Regions from separate parts of the Homo sapiens genome. Here region 1 is linked to region 2. Evidence: promoter capture Hi-C in 16 types of primary human blood cells and fetal thymus (Javierre and others, 2016). All regions are on one chromosome and are shown on one strand. The core of a region is centred on a gene start or on the middle of the fragment in contact, and the rest is flanking DNA. Distances in the headings are between cores, read along the strand shown.

Region 1 (4,449 bases), core at 1,524-4,023, 1.0 Mb before region 2:
TTTTGGCGGGCAGAATGGATGAGCCGGGAATCGATATCCAGGCCCACCATGCGGGACGGGCCCCACTTGCAGGCAATGCTCAGGGTCAGATGGCCCACATTGCAGCCCAGATCTAGGACGTCCCGGCCCCGAAACCACTCAGGCTTCAACACCCGAAGGCGCCCATCCTCACAGGAAGGATTGCGGTACCCATAGTATTTGCAATAATTCCCATACTGGAACTTGCGCTGTTGCTTTTTGAAGCCTGCTGCAGGCAGTGGGTGGTGGTGGTGGTGGCGGCCTCCCCAACTCCCTCGGCCCTTTTCCTTGGAACCCTGGCCTCCACCCCTAGCCCCTGCCTCCGACTTGCTGGAAGTCCTGCGACGTTTGCGATGTCGGGAGGAGGAAGATGGGGGTGCAGAGATAACTGAGGCAGCTGGAGGGGCTGATAGGGAGCCTGAGGGACCCTGCAGAGCAGATGGAAGGGGAGACACCACTTCATCCCTGCAGTTGATGGCTGTGTTGAGTTCATAGGGTTGGGGGGCATCCCGGTTCTGGCCCCTGTGCCGCGGCTGCTGTGAGGCGCCCTCCCCGTGGAGTAAGGGGGTGAGAGGGGCTGTGGGCGGCACGGGGTGACTCTCACTCCCTCCGGCTGCCTGCTGCTGCTGGTGGTGCTGTCCCCGGTGTCTATGCCGCTTCCGACCAGTCTTGAGTGGCGAAGCAAGAACTACATGGCCCTCATCAGTGCAAGTATTGAGACTGAGCGGGTCAGTAATATCTTTGGGGATGAGGATCTCCACCGGATCTCGCCCTTTGGCCGGAAGGGGGGATGACTTAGGGGTCTCCGCGTTGAGAGTGCGGCTCACTTCCTCATCCAGGAGGCTATTCAGGTTCAGGGGATCAAAGATATTGCCCCCCAGGAGGAAGTTGGAGGGTAACACAGAGTCACAGTCCGAATTCACCCGCCTGCGCCTCTTGAAGGCCGGATGTTTGAAGCCTCCCCCGCCTCCCCCTACATTACAGCTATTTCTCCTCTTGCCCCCGCCCCCCCCAGGTGGCCGGTGGGGCTGATAGCCATTGCGGGGTCGAGGAGGAGCAGGGGGACCCAGCTCTGTCCCGCCCCCTCCCCGGCGCTCCTCCCCCACGTCCGGGGGAGCGGCTCGCCCCGGGGGATCCGACAGGCGGGCCTCCCCATGCGACTGCGCCTGGGGGCCGCCCCCTCGGTGCTGCTGCGCCTGGGGACCACTGGAGGAGGTGGCCGCGGCCCCGGGGCTTTCCCGACCGACCGCAGCGGCTGGGGACCCCGCAGATGGCGCGCAACGACCCGGACCACGCTCCGTCCCGCCGCGGAGCTCCCCAGAGGCGGCCTCTTGGTGCGGTGGCACCGTGGGGCCGCCCCCTCCGCCCGACTCATCTTTGAGCGGCGGCGGCGGGGCCGGCACCAGAAACGGCTCCTTCTCCGCCGCCATCTCGATCATTTCCTCCCCTTATTCCGTGCCAGTCGGGGTAACGAGGGGGATCAGGGGGCCTAACCCCCCCTGCCTGGACCCTGCTCCCTTCCCCCCTTTCCCGAGTGCGCGCGCAGCTCTGCTCTTCACGCCTAGTCTCGCGCCCAAGCGCCTCCCCGCCAAGTGCGCCCTACTAGCCCGCGAGACCAAAACAAGAGGCCCGCGAGACCCGAACTACTCGAGGACTCAACCGCGCGTGCGCCGACCCCTTTCTCCTCCGCCACTACCACCCGGCCGCGAGCGCGCACGGTGAGCGCGCGTTCCCTTCGCCCGGGAACCACGCATGCGCACTCCGCCACCACCCTGGTTGCGCGCGCATCAGACTACGAACCAACTTAACGGCTCTGGGAGTTTAAATATAACCCCCCCACAGCCCCCGCAAAAGCCCACCACCCCAAACTGACACCCTACTTCCCTGCGCAGCTATGTCCGGCCCTACTGATCTCCTTTGTCTCTGCCGCGCGATCCCACCCACCGTAGGCGGGGGACGGGAGCTGGTGTGAAAAGGTCTCCTTGACACCCGACCCTTGTTCCTGAGGAATGAGTCTCAGCGGTCTCCGCCCGGCTCTAAATCCAACAACCTCCCCACCCCGCCTCCTTCCTCCCCCCTAGTGGGCAGCGCCTGCGCACACCCTTTTGGGCTTGCGCGGGTAGAGGCAGCACGTGCTGAAACTGGCGCCCCGCCCCCCGTCTTAGGGGTTGGGCCTGTGACGTCGCTTCCTTAAGTTTGGTAAACGCAGCGTGCGTCAGCGCGATCCGGAGGGGCGGGGCTTCCTGACGAAGGGCGGGGCTCATGAATTATTCATGAGCTGTTGGTAGCAAACCTCCCCCCCTCTGCCCACCTTCTTAGAAGCGCTTCCGAGGGAGCGGAGGGGAGACCCTACAAAGCCAAGGAAGGGCGGGAGTGGAACTGGGCTCAGTAAAACGCGATAGGTCATTATAACTCACCCCCCTTGAAAATATTCTCTGCTGAATTGGGGAAAAATAAAAAGCACTAAAACAGCCGATGTTGTCCAACTTCCTCTTCCCCCGAAACGGCTGAGTCGTTCTCTGGCTCCTCTACCTTCCCCCAATCGCAATCACCTGGAGACGCCACACCACGCCTTCCTCTCCGCCTCAACACCCACGACCCGAACCCCAACGCATCCGCCCACTCCCGACGCCCGCTCACTGGCCCGTCAGTTCGCGGGCCTCTCAACACCCACCGCGGCGCCACGCCGACTTATATACCAGCGAGTGTGGGCGGGGACGGGGGTTCGGTCCGCGCTGGGCCCCCCCAGCTTCTGCCAATGAGGAAGAAGCGAGTCTACGCCGTTTTCCCGGGGAGATGCGCCGCCCGGTCTCCCTGCCAGCGGAGTGCTGGGCCGAGGACAGGGCGGCAGGGGTGACAGTGGGGTCCAGGAGAGTCTCAAAATCCTAAGGTGAGGGCGTGAAGGAGACCAGCAGGAAGAGGAGGAATTAGAGAACGGAAAGAGGGAGGAAAAGGCAGTCTGAAACAGAAAAGTTAGTAGATGTGCTTCAGGAACAATCAGGCGCCGCGGCCGCCGCCTAAAAATATGTGACACCAAAGAGGATTCTGGGATTTGTAGTTTTCCCGGGACGTTCGGGTGGAAGATGGCGGATTTACCTCAGCTGCGGAAACGCAGACGCTGTTTCCAGTTGCGCATGCGCCTCGGCCCCGCGAGCGCACCGCCCTCGGGTGGAGCTAGTGCTCAGGGCGTCCTCGTGCCTTTTCTTGGTGGCGGGAAACCTGGGTTGAGGTGTGAGGGGCTTGCGGAGTCGCTGCGGCAGCTGGTTCCGCCCATCGCCTTTAGGTCCTCCTTGCTCCTGAAGGTAGCCAGCTAGTTTCTGGTTGTAGGTGAAGGTGCTAGGCGCTGCCAGTCCTGGCACCCGTTGCCTGAGGAGAAACTTTCTCAGGGCGACAACCAGCCCTTCGCCCTTTTTCCTCAGAATCTGTCGCCCCCAAGAAACAGACAAAAAAAAAATAGCCCAGTCTCCTGGCGGGCACCAACGATATGAGTGAGAATAAGGATCACGGGGCCTCGGCAGGAGTGGGGGTGGAGGGGAGATTCCCTCATGGTGGGAGGAAGGAAGGGAGGGGACGGGGAAGAGAGAGGGGGACGTGTGGCTCAGGGACACCGACTTGAACCGCTATCCCTGAGAGAGAATAAGGGGTGAGGGAAGAGAGGAAAAATGGGAGCGCCCCACAAATGGGAAGAACTTCTCTGCAAAACTTCTTCCCTTTGGATTGCAGGTGGATTTGGAATTGGGGCTTTTTTTTTTTTTTTTTTAAAGACTGTCTCGCTCTGTCGCCCAGGCTGGAGTGCAGTGGCGCAGTCTCGGCTCACTGCAACCCCCACCTCCTGGGTTCAAGCGATTCCCCTGCCTCAGCCTCCCGAGGAGCTGGGACTACAGGCGCCCGCCACTGTGCCCGGCTAATTTTGTATTTTTAGTAGAGACGGGGTTTCTCCATGTTGGCCAGGCTGGTCTCGAACTCCTGACCTTAGGTGATCCGCCCACCTTGGCCTCCCAAAATGCTGGGATTACAGGCACGCGCCACCGTGCTCGGCTGATTTTTTTGTATTTTTAGTAGAGACGGGGTTTCACCGTATTGGCCAGGCTGGTCCCGAACTCCTGACTTAAGGTGATCCACCCGCCTCTTCTTTCTTGTTAAAAGTTTTAAATCGGGCTTGCTGAGCTTGTGCACAAACACGAAGGAAGAAAGCAAGGGAGGGAAGGGGGAGGAAGGAAGGAGGGAGGGAAGGGGGAGGAAGGAAGGAGGGAGGGAAGGGGGAGGAAGGAAGGAGGGAGGGAAGGAGAAGAGAGAGAGGGAGGGAGGAAAGGGAGGAGGGAGGGAGGAGGGGGAGGAAAGGGGAGGGAGGGAAGGAGAAGAGAGAGAGGGAGGGAAGGAGAAGAGAGAGGGAGGGAAGGATAAGAGAGGGAGGGAGGAAAGGGGAGGGAG
Region 2 (4,794 bases), core at 1,349-3,848:
CTACTCACCTTCTCTCATCTTTTGATCTAATTCATCCAGTGTTGGCTCAATCAACTCCCAGCCATCTGGGGGTGCTTTCCGGCTTCTTTTGACTTTAGGCATTTTCCTTCCACAGGATAATCTGCAAAGATCTGGGGGAAAAAAATGAATTGGTTTCTGAGTCTCAAATCCCCAAAGGCCTTTGCCAGCCATTATTTCGGTACAGGCTGACTTCCTTGAGTCAGCATAGGGTCACAGCTATGGGACAGGGCTCAGCACCCAGACTGTGTTCAAATCCTGGCTCTGCTACTTACCCGCTGTGATCTTCAGAAAGGTACTTAACCTTCCTAAGCCTCTGTTTCCTCATCTGTAAAATGGGGATAATGGAAGCTACCTTATGTGGTCATTGCAAAGACTTCATTAGAATTGTATCTATCATGCCTGGTGTATAATGTGTGCCTAAGAGACATTTGCTGTTGTCATTAGCTAACTTCAACTAAAAGCTTAACCCTATACTGGATGTTGGGAACACAGAACAAAAGTTAAGCCTTTGCCCCTTAGAAGGTGACATTTTAGCAAAGAGACAGACAAGAGAAAAAGCAATTACAATAGAGTATAAGGAGGGCTGTGACTCGGGGAGCCATGGGGGTGAGTATTTAAAAAGGCAAAGATGGAAGGTCAGGCACGGTGGCTCATGCCTGTAATTCTGGTCTTGGCCAGCACCTTGGGAGGCTGAGATGGGAGGATCACTTGAGCCCAGGAATTTGAGACCAGTCTGAGCAATGAGGTGAAACCCTATCTCTACCAAAAAAAAAAAAAAATCAAAAAAATTAACTGAGCATGGTGGTGGGTGCCTGTGGTCTGAGCTACACGGAAGGCTGAGGCAAGAGGATCACTTGAGCCCAGGAGGTTGAAAGTCTTCAGTTAGCCATGTTCACACTACTGCACTCCAGCCTAAGTGACGGAGTGAGACCATGTCTCAATAACAAACAAAACAAAACAAAACATAAAATAAAAAGGGAAAGATGACTGTAAAATCAAAGTACCTTAGGATGTGCTTTCCAAGAGTATAGACAGCAGAAAGATCTCTCGTCTCTGCAGTTGCAGGCTTGGATTCTTGTTCAGCTCTAAAAAATTATTCTGTGACTTTCAGGTCACCTTCCCTCTCTGGTCCTGTTTCTTCTGTAAAATGAGGGCAGTGGATTGGCTGATTGCCAAGGTCTCTTTCACACCAAACAACATATTACATAAAGTCAGGTAGTTCCCATACAAGAGGCCGATCCCAATCTAAATAGCAAAGCGTTTTTCAAACCACACAGCATTTCCTTGCTGCCAGAGAGAACCCAGGTTAAGTATTTACCTTTCAGCATAACAGATTCATCTCTCTCAAATTCATTCAGTCACTCCCTTCTGTACTGACACTTTACAAAGACCCACCCCCCCCCCGCCCACAGAGCCTCCTCTCATGAACTCTCTAAAACAACCATATAGAGGAGGAATCAAACTCTATAAGGTAGAATCAGGGTCACACAGCTGAGAATTTGCAAAACCTGACTCTGGAGGGCTCCTGACTCCCAAATCAGTGGTCTTCGCACTAGTCTCCCCTACGCTGAAGCTAAAAATAGGTGAATTCTGGTCTCGGCCCCAAGGCGCATAGTCTGTGACAAGAGAATGATCGCTTTTCTACGACCCAGGGAAATTCGAGGGCCCTGATCCAGCCTGGAAGTCAGAAGAGGCCTCTCGGAGGTGAAAATGGTAGGCGGTAACCAGATCGAGGAGAAAGAGGACGTAGGAGGTAATCAGATCGAGAAGAAAGATGTGCCGGGAGGTGTAAGAGAGATTGGGGCGCTAGGGGAAGGAGGCGAGGAGGAGCGAAGGAAGATAGTGCAGGATTGTAGGGAAAACTCATAAAAAGGACAGCATCTGAACCCAGCTTAGAAAAACAATCAGAACACAGAAGACGTTCCTACCAGAGGAAACGGCGCGAGAATCCTAGAGGAAAACCCCCAAATCTACCGTCCCCTCAGAAGAACGAACGTGGCGCCGCCTCCTCTCGGGAGCTCTCTCCGGCCTCAAGGTCCAAAGCCCGAACACATCCCAGTGGCTGGCTGAGAGTCCAGCCACTCATATCTCCCTCCAGGACGGTGCAGACCACCGGTCTCCCGCCTCAGCCGTTGCCAAGGTAATCGAGAACAGAGGGAAAACACATACCGGAAGCTCCTGGAGCTTGGGTAGCTGCTTCTCGACAGAAGGCTTCCGCTCTTCAGGCGATCTCTAAGGCATGAGGTCCTTGCGGAGCCCCGCCCTACCCGCGCGGAGATTGCGTCATCTTAGGTGTCCTCAGCAATGCCTGTATAGAATTCCAGAGCCGCTGTTGCCATTTGCCCTCACTTCCGGTGGGTGGCAGGCAGGGCCACGCGTCTTCCCGAACGGAGAGACTAGGGGCGTTGTTGCCTGGCAGCAGACGGGCAAGCCTGGACTTAGGCGGCGCGCAGGACGGTCCGACTTCGTGCGGAGGCCTCCCTGAGGTCCGGGTCCTTGCGGCCACTGCGGCCACTGAAGCGGCGGCGGCGGCTGGCCCAGGAGGAAGAAGTCGAGCCCAAGCTATTTCCGGTTCCGGTGTCAGTTCGAGGCGCCGCCGCCGCCGCCGCAGCCGCCGGAGCCGCAATGCCTAAAGGAGGTGAGGGGCGGGCGCCGGTGGCCCGCAGGCCTGGAGGGGCGGCCCAGGTCCGGCTTCCGCTGTCCCCTCAGCCCGTGCGCGTCTCTGAGAGCAGCGCAGAGGGAGGCTGTCCGCACCGGCTGAGAGCCAGGCCTGGGCCTCGACGCCCAATTGTCCCGATGGGGAAACTGAGGACTGTGGTGTCCCAGAGTCACTCCGTCAGTGGTCTGAGGAGTTTCGGAAGCTCTGGGTCCTCGCCGGCCTAGAAAGCCGGATCTAGGATGCGCTTCTCCGGGTCTAGGGGTTCTGGAATTTATCCCACTCTTTGGCTGGCTAGGAACTGAGTCACCGCGTCCCGCGCTTGTGCCGGGCCCGCCTGCCTCTCGCGTAAAACGTGGGCTTTTTCTGGCTTCGGTTCAGCCAGGCCTGCCTAGGAGGACTTAAGGAGATGCCCATGAGCCTTCCAGACCTGGTTTCGACTCCCCCGTTCGGTAGCGGCTCGGTGTGTTCCTTTGAGCCAGTCGCTCCACCTCCTGTGTCTCCGTTTTCTCATTTGCCAATGGGAATAACGATTGTACCTACCTCTTAGTACTGTTGGGAGGCTTCAACTAGGTAATCCACGTGGAGTGCGCAGTACAGTGCCAGGCAGTCGTTAAAAGTGCCCAGTGAAGCAGTAACTATTCTTATTTTTAAGGCTTTGCCAGCTCTTGATCTTGTAAGTAGGTTCATGACTGCCCAGTCCATTGTAGCCCGTCCTCTATCTTCTAGCCCGTTCTCTATCCTGTTTCCCCCTTTAGAATCGATAGTCCCCAGTTTGAATCCCAGCTATGTCACGTCTAATTCTGTGGCCCTGAACAAGTTAACCTCTTCCTCATCTGAAACACTGGGCTAATCCTTAGCTTGTTGAATTGGGGCCGGGGTGGTAAAATTATAGCGCTCATAAAGTGCCTGGCCACCTCCTGGCACAGAACAAATATATTTGTGTTGGTAGCTCATGTGTTATATTGGTTAATGCACTCAACCCACAGAAACATCTGCCTGTAGCGTTTTCAAACCTAAATCGCTTCCTGACTCCAGAGATAATTGGGCATTACAGAGCTAAATGTGTTTAAACCTAGCTCTCTACTGATTTATTCTGTGGCTGGAAAAGTCTCTCTGCTATTGTTCCCCAGTCCCTTCATCTGTAAAAGGAGGTTGCTGAATGAGCCATCCTCCCTCCGAAGTTTTACTTAATGGATACTTTGGGTAAAGGTTGGAGGTTACAACGATAAAACCTTAAATATGAATTCATAGCTAAATGGTCTTTGGGCTTGTGAAAAGCTTTTTGGGGTAGACAAGGTTTACATTTTCTTGGGTTAATCTGAAAACCACAAAAAACCGTGAAGGTGTTAAAAGTATCAAACTCCCTAAGAGCAAAGGACCAACGCTTGTTTCCATTATGTTAAGTGCAAATCGTTTTTTAAAGTCTTGAAGAGTCTACTATAAAATTACTGTGGACCAAGCTAAGGTCAGGGTCCCATAGCCAAGTGCATGAGAGGAGAGCCTATAGTAATCAATTTTGAGTTGTTACTGTTGCCTGGTGTATTAAGAGAGCAAGAAAGGGTGTTGGTTTTTTTCTTGGCACACTTGCTCTCTCACAATAGGACTTTAATAAGCATAGACTTAGACACCCCTGGGAACCTAGGTAGTCATTAAAAATGGGTGGTGTGATCTTTAGCAGCCCAATTATGGCTTTGCAGCTGCTGTAAGGAATCAGAGGAGGCCAGTATCTCTGCTACCGCCTCTGGAGTGCAGAGCAACTCTGGCTGATTACAGAGTCTCTGCTCACAGAGACAGACTATGGAAATCAGGTGGGCCTCAGCTTCCTGTGTGGAAGTTGAGGCCACAGCCACCCTTGCATACTTGGGGACCAGCAGAGGGGGATGCCACCTTGCTTTAAAACTGGCTGATGGCTTAAGCAAGGGTCAGCCTGGTGTTCTGGCTGAAGAGGGTCAGACTATAAAACTGACACTTTAACTGCTAGTCACATTTTTAACTTTTAGACTGTGTAGTCAGGTTTGTTTTCATCTGTACTTTGCCAGTCATTTCTTAGTCTAAGCACAAAGTTTTTGCCTGTAGGTTTGGGTTTCTTTTTTTTCCCTTAAGTATTCTCTTTT

The links. The method cuts DNA at HindIII sites, captures the fragments that hold promoters and counts their contacts. A CHiCAGO score of 5 or more calls a contact.
Region 1: a contact is called between the fragment with the promoter of ZCWPW1 here and the fragment with the promoter of PDAP1 in region 2, in 1 of 17 cell types (neutrophils). The highest score is 7.6, in neutrophils.

What each region holds. Positions count from the first base shown.
Region 1 is chr7:100,427,027-100,431,475 of GRCh38, reverse strand. ZCWPW1 (zinc finger CW-type and PWWP domain containing 1) reads left to right here and starts at 2,773. Exons shown (of 18, transcript NM_001386010.1): 1 at 2,773-2,908. MEPCE (methylphosphate capping enzyme) reads right to left here and starts at 1,645. Exons shown (of 4, transcript NM_019606.6): 1 at 1-1,645. The coding sequence starts at 1,457. RefSeq lists enhancers at 746-825, 1,696-1,835, 2,856-3,085 and silencers at 956-1,425, 3,246-3,295. The HindIII fragment of the contact is 9,299 bases long and covers 1-4,449 here.
Region 2 is chr7:99,406,401-99,411,194 of GRCh38, reverse strand. It overlaps PDAP1 (PDGFA associated protein 1), which reads left to right and starts at 2,598. Exons shown (of 6, transcript NM_014891.7): 1 at 2,598-2,659. The coding sequence starts at 2,647. BUD31 (BUD31 spliceosome associated protein) reads right to left here and starts at 2,226. Exons shown (of 6, transcript NM_003910.4): 1 at 1,950-2,226; 2 at 1,026-1,161; 3 at 9-131. The coding sequence starts at 102. MIR12119 (microRNA 12119) reads right to left here and starts at 2,023; the gene lies at 1,931-2,023. RefSeq lists an enhancer at 2,170-2,559 and a silencer at 2,770-2,829. The HindIII fragment of the contact is 3,476 bases long and covers 485-3,960 here.